Linked DNA regions of Homo sapiens: all the other regions are linked to region 1. The links are contacts of gene promoters, found by promoter capture Hi-C in blood cells and fetal thymus (Javierre and others, 2016). All regions are on one chromosome and are shown on one strand. Each heading gives the region's core, a stretch centred on a gene start or on the middle of the fragment in contact. The rest is flanking DNA. Distances are from core to core; before and after follow the strand shown.

The links. Contacts are between HindIII fragments. The CHiCAGO score rates a contact against its expected background, and 5 or more counts as called.
Region 2: a contact is called between a fragment that was not itself captured here and the fragment with the promoter of UST-AS2 in region 1, in 14 of 17 cell types (activated CD4 T cells, non-activated CD4 T cells, M1 macrophages and 11 more). The highest score is 15.4, in activated CD4 T cells.
Region 3: a contact is called between a fragment that was not itself captured here and the fragment with the promoter of UST-AS2 in region 1, in 10 of 17 cell types (non-activated CD4 T cells, megakaryocytes, activated CD4 T cells and 7 more). The highest score is 7.5, in non-activated CD4 T cells.
Region 4: a contact is called between a fragment that was not itself captured here and the fragment with the promoter of UST-AS2 in region 1, in 14 of 17 cell types (activated CD4 T cells, M1 macrophages, non-activated CD4 T cells and 11 more). The highest score is 16.2, in activated CD4 T cells.
Region 5: a contact is called between a fragment that was not itself captured here and the fragment with the promoter of UST-AS2 in region 1, in 15 of 17 cell types (total CD4 T cells, activated CD4 T cells, naive CD4 T cells and 12 more). The highest score is 15.0, in total CD4 T cells.
Region 6: the fragment with the promoter of UST here is called in contact with the fragment with the promoter of UST-AS2 in region 1 in 2 of 17 cell types (total B cells and naive B cells); the score reaches 7.0 in total B cells.
Region 7: a fragment that was not itself captured here is called in contact with the fragment with the promoter of UST-AS2 in region 1 in 5 of 17 cell types (non-activated CD4 T cells, naive CD4 T cells, total CD4 T cells and 2 more); the score reaches 7.1 in non-activated CD4 T cells.

Annotation. Positions count from the first base shown.
Region 1 is chr6:149,031,401-149,034,125 of GRCh38, reverse strand. It overlaps UST-AS2 (UST antisense RNA 2), which reads left to right and starts at 1,465. Exons shown (of 2, transcript NR_134599.1): 1 at 1,465-1,601. All of the region lies in intron 7 of UST (uronyl 2-sulfotransferase), which reads right to left. RefSeq lists an enhancer at 872-1,061. The HindIII fragment of the contact is 1,599 bases long and covers 1,072-2,670 here.
Region 2 is chr6:149,354,666-149,357,635 of GRCh38, reverse strand. All of the region lies in intron 1 of TAB2 (TGF-beta activated kinase 1 (MAP3K7) binding protein 2), which reads right to left. Among named protein-coding and RNA genes, the nearest start is that of TAB2, 38 kb to the right of the region's middle. The HindIII fragment of the contact is 8,099 bases long and covers 1-2,970 here.
Region 3 is chr6:149,316,157-149,319,056 of GRCh38, reverse strand. TAB2 (TGF-beta activated kinase 1 (MAP3K7) binding protein 2) reads right to left here and starts at 1,345. Exons shown (of 7, transcript NM_001292034.3): 1 at 1,042-1,345. RefSeq lists enhancers at 13-122, 283-462 and silencers at 553-1,452, 1,543-2,082, 2,133-2,202. The HindIII fragment of the contact is 9,290 bases long and covers 1-2,900 here.
Region 4 is chr6:149,335,777-149,338,614 of GRCh38, reverse strand. The region is part of intron 1 of TAB2 (TGF-beta activated kinase 1 (MAP3K7) binding protein 2); the gene reads right to left. Among named protein-coding and RNA genes, the nearest start is that of TAB2, 19 kb to the right of the region's middle. RefSeq lists an enhancer at 1,753-1,902. The HindIII fragment of the contact is 2,030 bases long and covers 328-2,357 here.
Region 5 is chr6:149,373,058-149,376,018 of GRCh38, reverse strand. The region is part of intron 2 of TAB2 (TGF-beta activated kinase 1 (MAP3K7) binding protein 2); the gene reads right to left. Among named protein-coding and RNA genes, the nearest start is that of SUMO4, 26 kb to the left of the region's middle. The HindIII fragment of the contact is 1,637 bases long and covers 473-2,109 here.
Region 6 is chr6:148,745,325-148,748,308 of GRCh38, reverse strand. UST (uronyl 2-sulfotransferase) reads right to left here and starts at 1,279. Exons shown (of 8, transcript NM_005715.3): 1 at 632-1,279. The coding sequence starts at 878. It overlaps LOC124901425 (a long non-coding RNA gene), which reads left to right and starts at 2,710. Exons shown (of 2, transcript XR_007059806.1): 1 at 2,710-2,984. RefSeq lists enhancers at 1-142, 1,451-1,530, 1,591-1,650 and silencers at 321-490, 791-880. The HindIII fragment of the contact is 11,485 bases long and covers 1-2,984 here.
Region 7 is chr6:149,291,466-149,294,165 of GRCh38, reverse strand. It overlaps a transcript of TAB2 not described here and the pseudogene RN7SL234P. Among named protein-coding and RNA genes, the nearest start is that of TAB2, 25 kb to the left of the region's middle. The HindIII fragment of the contact is 8,368 bases long and covers 1-2,700 here.

The DNA of each region.
Region 1 (2,725 bases), core at 216-2,715:
CAGCAGGACCATGCATCTCAAATGTGGGTATGACCATCTTAGGAAGATGGAGAGGAGCAAGGAAGTAGAAGTAAAGGTAATGGAATAAGAGAATGAGATCATGACCCCAGTAAATCAAGAAACAGCAGCCTGTGCATACTAGTTACAGATAGCGCGGTGATTATCCGAAGAAACATCTAGCTGCGCTGAAAGTGATTGGCTCTGCAACATCAGACTTCATCTTTGGGAGGGTTGGAATAGGAAACTGCTGGTTTTCATTATACATCTTATAGGACTATTTGATTTTTAATTATATACATGCATTACTTAATAGATATAGCAAAAAATGCAGGGAGGTAAAATCCTAGGAACACATGTTTTGAAAAACAGTTCTGGTAGAGTCTGGTTGACAATGCAGCAGAAGCATCTAGAAGCGTATGCTATGGTAAAGACGAGGGGCGGGGTGAGACCTTCAAGTCAAGTGAAACTACCCCACCTGACAAACAACCCTCTCTTCTTCTCATCAGTGTGGGATTATGTTGGATTTTTCTATGCGTTTGTAGGTAATGAAATGAACGTGCTTACTAGAACCCACAAGAAACCACACATAAAAATCCCCAGCAATGTTATATACACAGGTATATTTCTAGCTTTTTGCTGTATTCTTTCACAATTCTGTGCCATTTGCAAGATGTGAAAAGCTAGGACATTATGTATTGATAAAAATGTCTGAGACATGAAAAATATACAGACCAAGAAATATTTTTATTTGAAAAAGATTTAGCCAGACAAAAATAGAAGCTTCCATTATAAAATGTTGAGTCATGCAAAATGGGTAAGGATTGTACTTCGCCCCGGCAGGGGGTACATTTTATAAGCAAAGAATGTCAGAGAGCTAAGGCCACGAGCCAAGGGCCCAAAGACAGTTTTGAAATCCTTTGTCTAGTGCTCTTTCCACATCACCACATTAATTCCTGGGGTGGACAGGGACCTTGACAATTTAAGCATAAAAGAACAAACTGACCACAAGGTCGTTTTTATAAAGATCAACCATCAACCCCTGGGGTCAAGTTTCCAATCTTTGCTCAAGCTTTAGAAGCCTTTCAGCTTTGTGGCGTTATCAGGAAAGTCCAAAAATTGAAATTTGTGGTGACTAATTCCACCCCCTACAAATACTCAATGCAGAGCATATTACTGTCAGCTCAGCTAAAAACTGCTCAAAGTAGAAGTGATTAAATTCTAAAGTAGAAAAAAATTCACCTCCAAACACAGAAACACACTGGTACCTCCCCCGCACACCCAGATATTATTAGCCAGCTTTTTGCCTGGGGAAATGAATCATGAGACAGAAAACTGTACAACCCCCAAGTCTGACCACACTGAGTAACTGGGGTAGACACAGAGGGGGGCATCTGGGGCTCTCCCGAGGCCAAGGTTGGGACCCAGAAGAGATGAATTTCCCTGGGTGCACAGGGTGGGAGGGAGGTGGGGCTGGAAGAACTTGATCTGGAGGGATGATCCCGAAGGCTCCCAGTGAAGAAGGCCAGGAAGAGCAGAGGATGGTGCCAGGAGGATGATGTCGGGGGACACAGGCAGCTCATGCCTGGATCAGGCAGTGACTGGTAACAGAAGGAGAGTCCATGCTGGTGGGCCCAGGGGAACATAGGTGGTCAAGCAGGGCAGTACTTGGTGTCTGGGGATGCAGTGTGCGACCTCCTGTATTCGGTGCGAGGCACATGGGGCCAGCAGGAGCTGGTGTGAGCCCGGGTCTGAAGGGTGGTGGGATCTTAGTGGGGAAGACTGGGAAGACAGCAGGGAGGAAGAACTCAGGCTGGAGGAGGATGGGGGCCTGGGAGGATCCCTGCCACACTGTTAGGAAGCCAGGGAGCTTGGGTGGTGGTAGGATGGGAAGAGGGCAGGGAAACGGGGGGAGGGTGACACAGGCCCTCCGGCAGCAGCGGCTTGGCCACTGGCGCTGAGATTGGTATGAGTGACTCAGTGCCAGGTTGCGCCACAGAAAGCTGAGGCTGCGGATCCTTCTCCTGCCTCTGGTAGGGCCGTCTTAAAGGCAGGGTGAGTGAGCCTGGCTCCAAGAGGCTGGGTCCGCAGGCAGGGGCTGACGTGGGCTGGCCCAAGCCCCAGCTCTCCTCACTCTGAGTGCTTCTATGCTTTCTCACCTCCACGCTTCCAATCATGTTATTTTCCTCTTATTAAAATGCCTCCTTCCACGTCCACTTGGCAAACTCCTACGCACCCTTTAAGGCCGGGCACAAATGTCTCCACAGGGTTATGCGCCCCAGCCCTGTTAGTGACGGCCTTCCAGCTAGACAAGATTTTCATCTTTATACTGCCCTTCCCCAGGAAAGGGACATCACAGACACTCAGCTATTTATTTGCTGGAGGTGTTTGTTGAATTTTTCTGGTAGTTTCAGATTACACCTATTTAAATATTAGTTTTCAGAGAAGAGAAATATTTTTGTAAAGTTATTCCTAGAACATCAATGTCTGTGAAGGAAGTTCTATTTTCCTGTTAATCTTTCATAATAAAATTGGAAATGCTTTCTCCTGGAGGAGAGATGATCCCAACGCAAGAACAAATCAGTAAGCAAGAGTAAAACATGTTTTCCAATAAAACAAAGAGTAATAGTTGAAATAGGCCAAACGCACATATATTATGCTGCAATTTAAGCTTTCATAAAGTAAATTAAACAAGCCTAGAGGCTGAATTCTTGTGAATTGGTGATGT
Region 2 (2,970 bases), core at 72-2,571, 320 kb before region 1:
AAATGTTGTAAAGTATTAAGTTCATCTAAATGTACTGACATGGACAGATGTTCATTAACACCGTTCAAGGGGGCAGAAGCATAGACTAAATTAAACAATGTATAATGTAATCCATTTACATATTGATAAAGAGTCTTTACTATTACTTTATATCCATCAAGGCTAAAATGTGTGTGTGTGTGTGTGTGTGTGTGTGTGTGTGTGTTTTTTTTTTCTCCTTGAGACGGAGTCTCCCTCTATTGCCCAGGCTGGAGTGTAGTGGCACAATCTTGGCTCACTGCAACCTCCGCCTCCTGGGTTCAAGTGATTCTCCTGCCTCAGCCTCCTGAGCAGTTGGGACTACAGGTGCACACCACCACGCCCGATTAGTTTTTGTATTTTTAGTAGAGATGGGACTTCACCATATTGGCCAGGCTGCTCTCGAACTCCTGACCTCGTGATCTGCCTGCCTCAGCCTCCCAAAGTGCTGGGATTACAGGAGTGAGCCACTGCACCCGGCTAAAATGTTTCATGCTGAAAACACACTACTTTTAAAAAGTAAAAATAAATTAAAAGTAAATAATAAAGACGTGGTTATTTCAGTTTTCAGCCACTAGACTGTTATAAATGTCATAATGCTGGTGAATGAAATAATTGAATAGTCAAGGTATCTGTAAAAAATACGATATGCTCTTTTGAAATGACAGGTGCATTTTTATAAATTACTGTAAAAAAATTCTATGGATAGGTGAAAGTCTGTTTGTAGCAAATTAATCATATAAGAGATTTTAATGCTGGAATTCATTTCAAACCAAACAAAAACAAAATCCTAAATTCCACACTACAAGAGTGAATACTCAACATCTGATGTCAAGATCTACAGATGAAGGCTGGAAAGATTTTTATGCTTTAGATCCATCCTCACCTGCTATGGTGTGAATGGTCAGGTCCCCTCAAAATTCGTATGTGACATCCTATCCCCCAAGATGACAGTATTGGGAGGTGATCAGGTTTGAGTGTGGAACCTACATGAATGGGATTAGTGGCCTTATAAAAGAGGCCCGAGGGAGCTGAGCTGCCCCTTCCACCATGCGAGGACATAGCTAAAAGGTGCCACCTACGAACCACAGAGTGGGAATTCACCAGACATTCAGTCTGCTGGTGCCTTGATCTTGGACTTCATAGCCTCCAGAACTACAAGAAATAAACTTCTGCTGTTTATAAGCTACCTAGTTTATGGTATTTTGTTACAGCAGCCTGAATAAACTAAGATTATCATCTTATTTCTGTAACCTTGTTTAATGGTTGCTCATTTTGACAATCCACATCTACGTGTATAAAATGAAGTTGAGTCTCACTTTCAGTTAACCCCCAATTTTAGTCACAGAATCACTGTGAAATCTTGCCTTTAATAAGGCCATACTAAGTTTTCTACAAATACCTGTTGAATGGCAGTCTCCTACATTTCTATGTGCTAAAGTAGAACTACCATTACCTTTAGTTAGAAGGAAATAAGCATTTGGAATTCTCTAGGACATTAGGAAATACGATTAAATTAGGAGGTATCAGAACAGATTCAATAATTCAAATTTTAAGAAATCTACTTGAAAGCCCAATATATCACTTTGTCATTTATCACTTCTCAAAGAGCCTTTCAATAGCATTAGTTAAGTGTTACATGGAAAAATAAGTTTTTTTTTTGTGGCAATACATTTGAAAAATGCTGTTACTTAAAGTTAAGGAGGTTTCTTTATTTCTGGACTTTAATATGCACTGTTAATCTTTGGGTAGCAGCAGCAGATGCAATATTTCTCAAATTTAGTTGGGCATGATCCTATTTATCCATAAGCATCTTGAGGTAGGAAGCACACAGGTAAACAGTGTCATGTAAGTAAGGTAATCAAAAGACAGCAGTACCTTTCTCTCTTAGGAATTTATGCTAAGGAAGTAATTCAACGTAAGTTTAACATAGTTTTTTTTTTTTTTTTTGAGATGGAGTTTTGCTCTTGTCACACAGGATGGAGTGCAATGGTGTGACCTCGACTCATTGCAACCTCCACCTCCTGGGTTCAAGCGATTCTCCTGTCTGAGCCTCCTGTGAAGCTGGGATTACATGTCCCTGCCACCACGCCCGGCTAATTTTTGCATTTTTAGTAGAGACGGGGGTTTCTCCACGTTGGCCAGGCTGGTCTCGAACTCCTGACCTCAGGTGATCCACCCACCTCGGCCTCCCAAAGTGCTGGGATTACAGGTATTAGCCACCACACCTGCCCTAAGTTTAAAATAGTTTTCTAACAGTAAAAACCAAAAAAGAACCAAACAGCTTAACTTTTGGAAAGCAGCTTTTCAAACTGTAATTTATTAATACTTGACTATTATGCAGACATTAAAACTTATTAAAACCTCAGAAAATGCAAGGAAGTAGTCATGTAATATTTGGCAAAAACAGAAAGACATTATCATGTAAATAATTTTCACTGGGGAAAATTTTAAATTGGAGACCAAACAAAAAAGTATAGGGGCGGCGCATCATGGGAGATTTAATTTATTAAAAAATAATGATCTTTAATTAACATCCAAATGTCTGTTAACACATCACTTGGTGAGGGGAATCCTCACCTCAGAGTGCAGTCTCTATAGATGTCAATTTGGCAATCTGTATCAAAATTAAAACTGCATTTATTTTTTGACTTCACAATTCTATTTTTATGAATCTGTTTGCAGATACAGTCACACAGAAAACTATATATATTTGCCAAAGCATGTTTCTAATGATAAACAACCAAAAACTACTTACGTATCTGTTAATAGTGATGTGTAAACTATGGTCATTCACAAAAGTATAATGTACTATACAGCCATTAAAAAGAATGAGATGCTAATATGGAATAATCCCCAAGAAACAATACTCAGTTAAAAAACTACCACCACTAAGTGCAGAACAGTGTTCTGTATTCTCTTACATACAAGAACACACACGCTTTTACGTGC
Region 3 (2,900 bases), core at 365-2,864, 280 kb before region 1:
CCGTACAGTTGCTCTGAATACGATCTTAGCGTTCAAGAACTTTCCAATGAATAAGGGTACTCAACAGCCTGCACTGGGGGCCTAAATTTCGTGAACTACGGAGAAACCCCTGTGAGGCTGCAAATTCCCTCCGCTCTCCTGGAAAACCCTCTTATCAGAAACATTTGAAGAATTTATCCACAACAATTAAGCTGACTTGAAGAATGGAAACCTAACATCTCAAATATACTATATATGGAATGAAACATGGCCAAACACATAAATACAAACTCACACGGTCTCTGACACTTTGGTGTACGACTGTGCCTGAACATCTCACAGCATCAGCAACAGAAAGATCCACCTGTCACCTGTTCAGCACCGCCAAGAGACCCTTGCAGCCTCCCTGACTCAACCACAATCGTAGGGTTTGAGGTTGATGGGACCGAAAACCAGAAACATCCAGTGAAATTTAAGGGGCCACATATTCATAGTAGGGCTTGCCCCCCACTTCAAAGACGGCTGCAGAAAACCAAGATCCGCAAAGGAACGATGTTCTCCCTCCCGCCCGACCCCCACATAACTGCCCCGTGTCTGTCCCCAAAACCCCCGCCCCTGAGTCATCTTTAACTAGACCTCGGCTCCCCAAAAGGAGATTTTTCCTCCCCCGCCCCCACCTCACACATGCCTGGGGGCGGGTCAGGGGCGCCGACGCAGGGAGGGGCCCTCCCGAGCCCCTTGCGCCCTCCCCCACCCGGGGCTCTCCTAGGCGCTCGATTCCAATGAAGCTCCCCCTCCCCCCCCGCACGGACGCCCCGGAGCCCAGGCCCGGCCCGATGCTCCCCACCCCCACCGGACTGGGGGACTCGGGGGGCCTCCCTCTCCGCCACGCCACTGGGGGAAGGAAAGAGGCGGAGGGAGGAAGAGTGCAAGTTAGAAGCGAACGCCCCGCACGGGCCTCGCGAGGCGGCAGAGCCCCTTCCAGACGGAGGGGGGTGCGGGGCGATGAGGGGAGAGCCAGGTTGGGGATCCCGCCGAGGCCCGGCAGCGCTGTCCGCTTACCCTTTGCCGCCGCCGCTTCCCCCTCCTCCTCCTCGGCCGCCGCCGCCGCCGCCTCTCCCACTAGGGCAGCCGTCTCCACCGTCGCCTCCGCCACCACGGCCGCCGCCAGCGCCGCCGCCGCCTCCGGTTCCACCCGGCAGGGGGGACACCTCAGCCCTCCCTCCCTCCCCGCTCAGCCCCCTCCGCTCGCCCGCCGCCGCCAACTCCCTCCGGCCGCCGCCGCCGCCACCGCTCCTGGCTGAGGGGGAGGGGAGGGGGTCGGGCTGGGTCGCCCCGCCGGCGGCTGCAGCAGATCAAAAACGACGGCTGGGCGGCGTCGCCGCTCCCCAATCCTCAGCTCCGGCTCGCTCGGCCTCCCCACCTCCCTCTGCCCCCACCCCCCTCGCGCTCGCCTGCCCTCCCCCCACCCCCCCAGCTCTCGCTCGCTCTCGCCGCGGCTCCGCCAGCCCAGTCCAAATCAAAATACTGTCACACAATATGGCGGCGCGGCGGCCGGCAAACACCGCGAGATCTGCAGCCGCGGCTGAGGCGGCGGCTGTGACGAGGCCTCCCCTAGCCGAACGGCGGGGGAGCAGCAGGCGGCGGCGGCGGCGGCGGCTGCGGCTGCGGCCCGGGGATGCTCTTCCTCCGACCTGTACCCCTCCCCCGACACTCGCAGTCTCTACGCCTGTCTTGCTAGGGCTGGAGGGAGGACGCGGGCCGCCGCTGGGGCCGTGCGAGGGGGGTGCCGGTGCGGGCAGCCCGGGGAGGGCTGGGACCCCCTTTCTCCGCCTGGGCCCCCCATCCTTGGGGGTAGGTTGCGGGTTCCACCTCCCGCCACGGGGGCCGCTAGCAGTTTGGGCTGAGGGAAGAAAGGAACTGAGCTCGCGTCCCAGCTGCACCTAGCGGAGGGGCTGGCCGGGTCCGGAAGTGGGTGGCGGGACTTGCCGGGCGGCCGGCGGCGCCGCGCGGGTGGGGTCCGGGGGCCCGGCCGGACCCCGGGGCGCTGCGGCGGCCGAGAGGAGCAGGTGGGCCCGCGGCGGAGGCTGGCGCCGGGTCGCTGCGGTCCGGGACACACCCCCTTGGAGCCGGATCGCACCGCCGGCTAACGGGAGGGACCCGTGCAGAATCGTCCCTAGGGTGTGCGGGAGACGTCTTGGGAGCCTCACAACTGGCAACTTCGAGACTTGGAAAAAGTGTCGGCTTCTGACTTTTCTTGAGCAGTTGAGGGGGAAAAAAGAAATCTAAATGCTGCGAGGGTTTCGTTGTTTCGATTTTATTTTAATTGCACGTTCCTAGAAGTCCTAGAAGCAGAGCCAAAGACTAGCTTTGCGGGAAGAGGGGGGGCCTTCAAGTTTCTACCTCCTTAAATAAATATTTGTTTAGTGTCCCCCTAGGGAAAAAAAAAGCGTGTTTAATACTCAGACGTTTCTCACAATGTGAAATATTTATTTAAAAATTCTAGCGCTTCCATGGTGTCCAAAACACTAGGGCATTTTTCTGCCCCTGTCCAAAATGTCCATATCCCTGGCAGTTTCTTCCTTGAAACAATTCTTACTCCAGAGAAAAATCCTAAAGGACCATTTTTATACTTTTATTTCCAGTGTGAGCACTGTAGCTACAGTGAGAATTTTTTTTAAACCATCTTTTAAATAGTAGAGCCTTCCTCACAGTTAAAAGTTCTTTCTCCCCACTTCCTTTTTCCTCATTCATCCTTTGAAAATACCTGAAGTCTGGGCTATAGCACCAATTCAAATACTTTGCCACTTCAAAAGCTGAAAGTACTTATGATTTACAATATCGGAATTTAATTATTCTCCATTGGTGATACCATTAAGAGAAGCAAAAGTAAAATTAGGATTTACAAAATTGGGAAGATT
Region 4 (2,838 bases), core at 93-2,592, 300 kb before region 1:
TCATGTGAAGCAAAAATATGTTGTTTCATCTTAATTGTACTTATGTTTAAACTTAAACTCTTCCAATACTAGTTTCCCTCCTCAACTTTCCATTTTTGTCAGAAATAGCAATTTCTTTTCAGCCTGCAAAGTGAAGTTACCTTAACTCTTCTCTCTTCTCTTTCTTTACCTTTACCCAACTCCTTGAAATCGCATCCATTTTGTAATTAACATTCCTTAAAATACAACTTCTAAGACTCTCCTCAATGGTTATTACAGTCAATACAGTCCACAATTACTTCCATAGTTCTGAAATAAAATGTCAGGACAAGATTTTTCCACGAAGCTTCATATGGAAACTCATTTGGTGGTGGCAAAAATCTGAGTTGAACCGATGTAAGGTTATTTACAGGCTTGATTTAGCCCACTTACTGTGAATATTTTCACCTTCACTGCAGAGATACTAGTGTCTAGTTACAGGATGATACCTCAGACCTTGCTGGGAGAGTTATGTAATATACAATATACACGTTACCTTTCCCAAATCCAAAAATGTTTGAATCCCAAAACACAGCTGGCCTCAGGGTTTCAGATAAAGCATTGTGGACCTGTATAATATTATTCTAGGAATCCTAATTTAGGCACCCTATACTTAACTTTCTTCCTGATACTCTCTCTTACCTGACTCCATGCATCTCAGCTCCCATACCACCAAGTTCTATTATTTTTTCTTTCCAATATCTCCTGCAATTTTACTCTATCTCTAACTGCTTACCACCCTATCCCTATCATCAAACATATAAATGACCAGACCCACTGCTTAGCTCCCTGCCAGTCTTCCCACCCTCTGTGTAAGTATAGTATAAGAGATTAAGAAAGTTTCCTATATAACCACTTTAAATATTTCACTCAATTGCAGAGGAATTTAATAAACTGAAACAGATAAATAATAAAAGAGGAAGGATAGTGACTGTGGTGTTACAAGATGAGTTTCTGTTATTTTTTTAAACAGTTTATCTACAATTGTGAGCTAAGAAGAGTTTGACCCTTTTTTCTAAACTGGTTGAAACTTTGAAATTTTCTATGTTAACACATCTATTCTGTAACTGAAACAAAACAAACAAATGAACAAAATTGGCAAGGCTCCTTTCCTGCTTATCACTTCAGCTAAAACCCCTCAGTGTGGTTTTTCAATGCCTTCTCCAGTTTGGTTCCACTAGATCGGGGGTCATGAATCCCTCTGGCAGTCTGGAGAAAGCTACAGAGTCCCCCTCAGAGTGGTTTTAAATGCATAAAATACAATATCTAGGATTATAAAGAAAGCCAGTTTTACTAAAATATAGTTGTTTTTGAAAATATGGTTTTAAATGCATAAAATATACATTACTAAGAAAACCAATTATACCGAAACAGTTATCAAGTGTTTTTAAAAACCTTGTATGTGATATATTCATACATATGCTTCTTTAGTAATAATACAATAAAATCTAGTGGGAGTCTAATAAAAACCATAATTCTGAAGTAGTAATATGCATAAATTATAGAGATATCAACAGCTGTAATCTGAAAATATCTGTGCTTTTTCTATTAGTAATAAAAGATATACGTACTGCTAATATTACTGTAGTCTGCCGCTTAAAATCTTATTAAAAGTAAATGCTAAATTTCAGTTCAAAGTTCATAAAAATATAAAGATGTCACTTTTTTTTTTTTATCTAAATGCATGCAGCCCTCTAAATTGTATCCCTGGATCCCTTCAGGGTCTTGCAGATTAAAACTACTCTATTAAATTCACCTGCTTCTATTTCCCAGCAGTCCCCACACCCTTAGGAATCTGGGCAGGCCTGTCTGAACATGTTCAACCCACACTTTCCTTTCTTTGCTTACTACACTACTGCCCTTGCTTAGAATGTTATGTCTTCACCTTGAGGCTTATCAAAATCTTAACTACCTCTTCAAAACCAATTCCAATTTCACCTTCTACTTGAATTCTTTTTATCCTGCTTCAGCCCACATGGATCTTTTCCTACAACTACTAATGTAGCTGTAGGTCAATGCTTTATGAATCAACATTTAATTATTCTCTTACAGTCTACTTCTGTGTCTCTTCATCTAAGTTATAAGATCCCCGGAGACATGTGCTATGTGCTTACACATAGAACACTGCATATACATAATATAGGCACATATAAAGTACTCAGCAAGTGCCCCCAATAAATCAAGCACAGAAGATCATCTGTTTGGCAACTTCGAGTACCAGAAAATACATCAAGATAAGCCAAAAGTTCCACTAAGGAGTTAAAACAGACATAAATTAGGCTTATAGTTCACCTCTATCAGAACCTAGATACTCCTATTTAATTAAGAACCCAGAAGCTTATTTACTAGGCAGCAATGAATTCCAAGTAATAAATCAAGGAAGGAGCACTAAAGTCAGCACAAGACAATGATTCATTCCAAACATATTGGTTAAGCACTACTACGTGCCAGGCACTGTTCTAGAATCTATGATTCAGTTCTCATATAGCAACTTAGTGCCAGGCCCTGGACTAGAACCCGGGGTTCCTGACTCATTCTGAAGCTCTGAAACAAAATGTTTATTTCTATCTTCCAGAAAAGGTTTAGTATGCAGGGTAAAAGTGGGGGAGGGGAGGAGGTGTTACTATTTCAGAAAGCAGCAAAGTATGTGAAACATTATAAAGAAATAGATTTGGAGGTATGAATATCTATATTTATCTACACACAATATACATAATATATTGTAAAATCTCTATAAAATCTCTAAAATAGATTCAGGAGTAAGTTTCAATCATTTTATGTACTTACTACCTAAGAATACTAGATGAATGAGGTGTTACT
Region 5 (2,961 bases), core at 42-2,541, 340 kb before region 1:
GTTTGATATGAGATAAAAATCATATTAAGAAAGAAGTGGACTAAAAAGGCATCTTGATGCCTTGTTAAGGAAATGACAGTTCACATTGTTTCAACAGGTAATATAAAAGGATAGTGAGCAAGGTTTGACTTCCCCCTTCCTAAAACCAACAACTTAAACCTCTCATGGTAGAAAAATCCTTTTATCCTACTAATAACTCTTAATTGATACATACTAATTTTTCAAATAAAGTTGAAAAACTGATCACAATCTTTATCAACGATTCCTATTATAATTAGATCTTATCTTTTGCCAAACCTGATTGGCCCTTTTTGCTTTAAGTTAAATTTATTGCCATTCCAAGTAAATTCTTCTTCCTTCTAAGCCAAAGCTCAGAGAGTTTATCTTCCTCTCACCTCCTCTCTGTCATCATTCTCAATTTAAAATTTACATTCCCTACCAAATCCAATTCCACATTTCCTTTGTAAAAGCTTGATACTCATATTTAGCCTTCCTCTTTAATTCTCTTGAGCGCTCAAAAATTCCTTTAATCCTTTGTAATCTCTGTAATTATTCAATATGTTCATATCAAAAAGCAATATTCTAGCTCAGTTATGCCATAATTTATGTGCACTCAAATTATTTACACTCTACAGACATTACTTTCTTAATAGCAAAACATAAAAGAACTTACAGGGGTTTTATAAGGTTACATTAGGACAAAAGGAAATGTACTTTTTATTAAAATTTTTATTTTAGAAAATTTTAAACATATATAAAAGAGAGAGGAAATATGATAAACTCCCACATACTTATCACCCATCTTTGTTCGTTTGATGTATATGCCTCAGCTACTCCCCCTACCAAACTAGATGAAGTCTCAGACATTATCTCGTTTTGATTTGTAAATACTTCAATATGTACTGTAAGAGACAGGACTTAAAAACATAACCACAATGCCATGATCATACCTTAAAATAATCAATTCTTAGCATCACCTAATATTCAAATAGCACTAAATTAAAGCATAAAAATGTCTTTGTACAGTTAGTTTAAATCAGGATCTAAATAAGGCCTACATATTTCATTTGGCTGATAAGCCTTTTAGGTTTCTTCTAATAACCAGCCCCTCCCCTCTTTTAAAATTTTTTCTAGCCATTTGTTTGTTGAGAAAACTTGGTATTTGTGTAGTAGAATTTCCCCTATTCTGGACTGCACCCCGTGGTCAATCAATTTCCCCTGCATTTCATTGTAAACTAGTAGTTATATCTAGGGATGTGATGAAGTCCATGTTTGAATTTTTGGTGACCATCACAGACATCCACTGTCAAATCATACAAGGAGACACAGCAATGTTTGCCTGTCTTTTTGTGATTTTAAAACCAACTGGTAGATTCAGATGTTGTCAGCTTGATCCAACTGATGATTTTTAGCAGCTATTGATGATCACTGCTTAGAAACACTATTTCATTAGGGGTGCTAAACAGTAATACTGGAATGTCCCAATTATAAGATTTTGGCCAGGCGCAGTGGCTCACCCCTGTAATCCCAGCGTTTTGGGAGGCCAAGGCGGGATGATCGCTGGGCCCAGGAGTTTGACACCAGACTGGGCAACATAGTGAGACCCTGTCTCTAAAAAAAAATCTTGTTTTTAATTAGCCAGGTAGAGTAGGACACCTGCAGCCCCAGCTACTCAGAAGGCTGAAGTAGCAGGAGCACTTGAACCCAGGAGGTTGAGGCTGCAGTAAGCCATGATCATCCCACTGCTGCATTCCAGCCTGGGTGAGAGCGAGACCCAGTCTCCAAAAAACATAAAATGGATTTCATCTTCATTCTTAGCAGCAATTCTTCCTTGAATGCTTGCTCTCTTCAACTATTTGGTTACATTCTGCACAGAAGAGGCAGGATAAAAAAATTCTTTTCACTAGTTTTCAGAGTAACAAATTTGGTCCCTAGCAACCTCCAAAGGTGACTATGATTTATTTTTAGTATCATTATAAACTCATGTGTCTTTAATATTTTGATGTGTTTCAATCAGTTTTGGTCATTATGTCCCCTCTTCAAGTTACTGGGAACAGCTTCAAGTTGGCTCCTCGGTATACGACATGAATCCAGTAGTTTTTCAAAGCTTCTCTGCTTTCTGATATGACAAGATGTTCTAGCTTATCATGTACATCTACTCCAGACTTGCAATCAGCCATTTCTCAAAGCAGCCCTGGTTACTTTTAGTGAGAAAGGGTAGAAGACTCTCTTGAAGTGTATCAAAAGGGGTGGGATATGAGTTTTTAGAAGGTGGAAAATCACTGCTTTTTGGTATACAGCCACAAATCTGCATTCTCCTCAAAGCTATAAAAAGGTCTGAATCATTAATTCCAGTTCCTCTTTCATTTTTCCCCAAACTCCTGCACAGACACAGAAATTACAGATAGTATCAAAGCATATATACCCTATGGCATTCATTCACTCCTTTAACCAACATTTACTGAGCATTCATTAGCAAGGAGAAAGGAATATGATCGCTGATCGCAAGAATCTCAGTCTAGTGGAGGAGAATAATGTGAACACAAATGAAATGCAGTATGGTAGGTGTTATCATAGAAATATGGATAAGGACAATGGGTGAAGGTCATCTGAGAAGGTTCCACTAAGTACATGGCACTTAAATATTAAGTGTTGCATATACTGAATGAAAAATACTTAATGCAGTACTTTGAAAAGAAATACCAATTTTAAACTTACAGATTCAATCGTCATGTTAAGAGAATTTAAAAACGGTAAAAAATTAAGTTAAAAAACCAAAGTGAAAACTATGCAATATTTTCACATTCTTCTAAGTTTTCAGATTTAATTACCAAATATAAAAATCAACTTTAAAGATATAAATTACACCTGCTGGTTATAAGTTATCTTACAGAATTCACAGCAGAAGGAAAAGATATGAGTAGTTCCAAAAAGAGGGAACTGTGCAACAGATAAACTTAA
Region 6 (2,984 bases), core at 30-2,529, 290 kb after region 1:
GCATCCCCAAACCCCTGGATGCAACCCGTTCCCCGCGCCAGGCTAGCTGCGGGCGGCGGGGTGGGCAGCGGCAGCCAAGGGACAAGCCAGCCCGGGGACAGCGCGGAGCCACTAGGGCCGGCGGGCAGGCGGGGGATCTGCGGGACAGAATTCTCAGAGCGGACGGTGGCAAAGGGCTAAACCCACCCACACTCCCCGGGGCGCGGGACGGGACTGAACTGCGGTCACTAACAATGCAACGAAGAGGACCTTCCCTTCCCTTCGCCACTCCCCGCGCCGCCAGGCCTGAAGATACACACACTCCGGCACACCCCACACACCCATCCACTCCGCCCCAGTCCGGATCCGGGTGGCGGAGGTGGGGCGGGGGGAAGGTGAGCGGTGCCTCGCCCCGGGGTACCTGCCGGCAGCGCAACCCAGCGGCGCCCCCGCCTCGGTGAGGACAGTCGGACGCGCGGGAGGAAGAAGGCGCTCCCGACCGCGGCACAGATGCTCACGGGCTTAGCACCTGGAGAGACCCGGGGCGGCGGCGGCGCGCGGTGGCAGCGCGAGAAGTCCCCGCCGCGACCCTCTCCCCGCCGCACAACTTTGCGCTGTCGGCGCCGCCCTAGCGCCTGCCCAGCTTCCTTACCCAAGTACTGCCGCAGGTCGAGCAGGAAGCGAGGGGGTCCCCCGCTGAGCTGATAGAGGAGGGAGCCCAGGCAGAAGACCAGCAGGGTGGCCATGCAGAAGCCGTAGTCCCGGAGGGAGAAGCGCAGGAAAGGCAGCAGGGGCACCCGACGCTTCCAGCTGCCCAGGCCCGGAGGGGCGCCCCCCATAGGGGCCCCATGGGGCCAGGGATCCGCGCCGCCGCCGGGATGCTGCTGCTTCTTCTTCATCGCCTGCTCCGCTGCCTCCCACAGCCTGCCCGTGCCAGGAAAAGGTCACCCATCCGCCGCGAGGAGGAGAGCCCGGCTGGCCGGCTGCACATGGGGAGGGCCGCGCGGAGGGCAGCCGGGTGGGGGCGGGGAGGGGCCGAAGTTGCCGGGCTCAGGAGACTTTCTTCGGCATGGTCCCCGCCGCCGCGGCCCGAGCGGCCGAGGTGTCCGGCCCCGGTTCGGGGCGCTGCCCGTGACGGGGCGCCGCGCCCGTCCGGCGCCCGCTAGCGTCCCCACGCCCCGCGCCCCGCCGCGCCTCGGGCTCGCTTGCGGCCGCCGGGGCTCGCCTCCAGCGCCAGCGTGGACCCCCCGGCTTTGTGTCTGTAGGTCTCGGCGTGTTTTGTCCCGGTTCAGGCTTCTCTAAAAAACGGCAGGGAGGAACAGGAGGCGGACACCATCCCCTCGCTCCACCTCCTTGACAGGGGTTTTCCTCCTTCTCCTCCCCTTTCTCCCTCCGGCGCTCCGCAGCACTCTCCTCCCTCTCCCCTCCCTCTCCGCTCGGGTCTCGGGATTTCGCTCGGGTGTCACGTTACTGCTTCTGCTGGGGGCGGAGGGGGGGAGGCGGCGATTATTCGCAACAAGGAAGAAAGTTTCTGGGTGTTTTCTTTTTTTTTCCTTCCCCCGTTCTTTACAATCTGGATGCGGTTCCTGCGCCACCAGCGACCTCTTGGGGGCCCCGCTGACTTCCCTCTTGTAAACAGTCACCGGCAGGAAGAAGCACGACTGACTTTACTATTTACATTTTTTTCAGTTCAGAAAGTTGATTCTCCTTATATACCCCGTGCGAGCTGCTTACCCAAGGCTGATAAAAGGTACTAGAATACAGGCTCAAGACTTTGCTGAAATGGGAAAAGAGCAAGCGGTGCGAGTTATGGTCAAACACGCCCCAGAGGGCCAGGCGCAGCGCCTGAACTCCCGGGTAGGGTAGCCGAAGAGGACGCTCTGTTCTTGCTTTTCCTGGTCCTACAACTGCTCCACCTCGCAGTGCCCAGAGAGGCAAGTGGGGGGTGCATAGCGGACTCTAGGAGGTCATTGCCCTGCAGACATGAAGGGGAAAGAGCCCAGTCCGCCTATACGCTGATTTCATTGCTGCCTCTCTTCCCTCCACGGGAAAGCCTCTGGACCTGAAAGAACCTCCTGGGGCAGAAAAGGCTCAATCCTAGACATAGATCCTCTGATGGGGTGGTTGATCCACGGAAGGGCTGCTCTGATCAGCCACACTTTAAGTAAGAATACTATATCACTATTTATAGAAGCTGTAGCACCTGAGGGCTGTGTGACTCACCCGAGGTCCCAAAGCTAGTAGTAGGAGTTGGGTTGGGAGTTGCACTCAAATCTATTTGACCCTCAGACCCACTATACTAACCACTGCACAGCAGTACTTCCCAGCCAGAGCCCTTTTCCTTCACGTCCCATAGGAGGATGAGATTTAATTCATTTAGTTCAGGCCACATTGAGAAATGGAAACCTCAGTTTCTGGTGCCTATCATTTCTGGCTCCCTACTCATTTGTATATTCCAGTAATGAACAATTGGATTTAAGAAGGAACCAGGAGCCAAGAACCTCTATGATTCTAAGACTAGGCTCCTGAAAACCTTCATCAAGTTAGGCATCTGAAGAATATTCTGTGGAAAATTACAAAATATTATCCTAGACAAAGAACTTACTCGTTAAGAATATGTCTTAACCTCAGCTACTCAGGAGGCTGAGGCAGGAGAATCGTGTGAACCCGGGAGGCGGAGGTTGCAGTGAGTCGAGATCGCGCCATTGCACTCCAGCCTGGGCGACAGTGCGAGACACCGTCTCAAAAAAAAAAAAAAAGAAAGAAAAGAAAAGAAAGAAAGAAAGAATGAATATGTCTTAACCATGTTCATATATGAATGTCTCTGGTTCATGATTTGAAACATATATCATGAGCTAGAGAGATGTGTAGATGAGGTGACAGGTGCTGCACACACACAGAGACACACGTACACACACACAACTCTACTGTCCAATTTTACATTGTCCTAGCCCACTTTCTAAGGGATGAGAAGGCTGTTTTGGGGCCCCAAGAGAAAAGAAAAT
Region 7 (2,700 bases), core at 137-2,636, 260 kb before region 1:
TTTAAGTGACCCCAGTCTGTGGTACTGTTATGGCATCCCTAGCAAACTAACATAGCTACTGACTAAAACAAAATAAAGGCCATTACTCTCTAGCAAAGTCAGATATAATCAGATACTGGATTTATACAGCAATTCTTAGGGTTTTTTTTAGCTCTTCACTTATAACTTTAAAAATCTTCTATTAATTTTTTTTCAGGGAAAATAACTTTGCTACTGAGTGTTTGATACTCTCTAGTCTCTATCTGCCTTTTCACCATTGAAACAAATTTTTTATAACATTATATATTGGATCAATTGAGGTTTCATAGTAATTAAATTATTATGTTATAGCAGAATAGCTGCTTCTATGATGGTTCTTTTCATATTATCAGATGATGTAAATGAGGTTGTATTATCTGTGAAGTGATCCAACAACATTTTGGAAGATATCATAAATTTCACTTTAACAGAACATGTTAAACTTACATTTAGGGGGACATTTTTTGAAGAGTTAACATGAATGCTAATTTATTAACTATCTGAAAAGGCACTGGGACCCTGTCATTTATGCCCTTTTCTACCCAGGCTGAATGTACCTGGAACACCTGGTCTTTCATTCATTAAATTCAACATTCCAGCGGAAAATGCTATTGGAATGTGCAAAGATTCAAACAACAAGCCAGGACAGCTGCATCTCAGACCAGTTCTATTTTGAAACCAGAAAACCCATGCAAATAAACAATAGCAACACACATAAGAAGTGAATTAATGACAGCTTACTGGAGATGACTCAAAAAGAGAAAAATTTCAATTGCACTTTCCAGCCTTCTCTCAAGGATAAAAAGAGGTAGATTACTAATCATCCTGAATCAGATGGTAGATTTATATAAAACAAATTTATACTATATTACAGAGAATAAAAAATTTCAGAACATTTTATACTCAATGATTTTTTTCTAAATGAAATAATTCCATTTACACTTCCCCCCACATTTCTCTCTCAACAATTCTAAAAAGAGGAAGAAATCAGAAGTTTTCTAATGTATTGCCATTATTGGGCCCCTCTAACCAAAGGCCTGAAAGTCACGAAGCCTGGCCTGAGAAGGCCATTTCTGGAGTTCTCTCATGGTTGTTTTCACGGGAAGCAAAGCTCAACGGGAAACTCCCAACTTGCCAACATTTCAATCAGGAAAACTAGTGAAGATACGTACCTGGAAAAATTAATTTATTCATCTGGCCAAAGAATTTTAATTCAGTCCTCATATATGGAGTAACAATGAAAAAATTTTATAATTAGATTAGGTTATATGGTACTTTTATTAATGAAAAACAAAGGAATTTAATTAAGATTAAGAACATTAAAGAAATTGGTCATACGGTTAGCTATGAAAAAACTCCCGAGAAAGCTCATTGTTGCTTAACTAAGGTAGAGTATATTAATTTTAGAAACTTCAGGGGTGCTTTTGTTCCAAATCAAAAATATGCTGGATTTCTTTATGTCATTTTTTGACATATGTCATCTTTATGACATTCTATATGTCATTTTTATGCTCCTTAATTTACCTATTTGAATCCTGTCAACAGCATAGTTCAGTGTTTTTTCAAAAATAAAATTTAACGACTGGTTCTTCTTCCATTTAAAACAATTTCTTTCATTCCCTTTTTCAAAGTTTATTTTATTCTCTTTTTCAAAGTAAGGAGAAATTCTAGAAATGCTTGCTGGTGTAGTCTCATTGTTTAAACTTGTTACTTTACAGCCAATCTGTTGCTTACTAATAATTTTAATTGCATCAATCACTCATTCTAAAGCTGTGCTTTTTATCTTGACTTGTTTAGTTCACATGCACTCCTGATTATGAAAGAGTTTTTTTCTGATGCTCCAAGTCACTGGAAAATGAGGGGAGTCAGTTTTTGTTGTAAAATATGTACTAAACCATTTACTCTTTACAGAGCATTGTACTAATCAGAGGCATTATGCCTCTGTCTAGTGAATCAATCTGCTTAACATTCTTATACTTACATTCTGCAAAACCCAGTCCCTGATCACATCTCTGGAAGGCTTCTAAGATTACTCCTTTATGAAGTTTCTCATTTAGGTCTTAATTTGCAAAAATTTTAATGAATGTTCATTGGTATGTTGCTTTATAACTTTTCTAATTATTTAGTTCTTATGATCTGTCTTCATAGCTAGACTATAAACTTTCAAGGGTTGGCACCATGTCTTCTACTATTTATATGACCAGCAACATCACTGTGATTAGTACTCATTCTCCTAGAAATCTAAAATAATGTATATAGTTTCTTTTGTTTGTTTTTTGTTTTTTTAGAGACAGGGTCACACTCTGTCACCCAGGCTGGAGTGCAGTGGTATGATCTTGGCTCACTACAACCTCCACCTCCCCAGTTCAAGTGATTCTCCTGCCTCAGCCACCTGAGTAGCTGGGATTACAGGCACCCACCACCACCCCTGGCTAATTTTTGTATTTTTAGTAGAGACGGGGTTTTGCCATGTTGGCCAGGCTGATCTCGAACTTCCGACCTCAAGTGATCTCCCCGCCTCAGCCTCCCAAAGTGCTGGGATTACAGGCGTGAGCCACTGCACCCAGGCCGGTGTGACAGTTTTGACCTGCTTCATTTCCAGCCTGGGTAGGTTCACCCCTCCTTAGGCAACCTGGTGGTTCTCTGCTCCAGGGAGGTCACCATATGGATGCCAAACTTAGT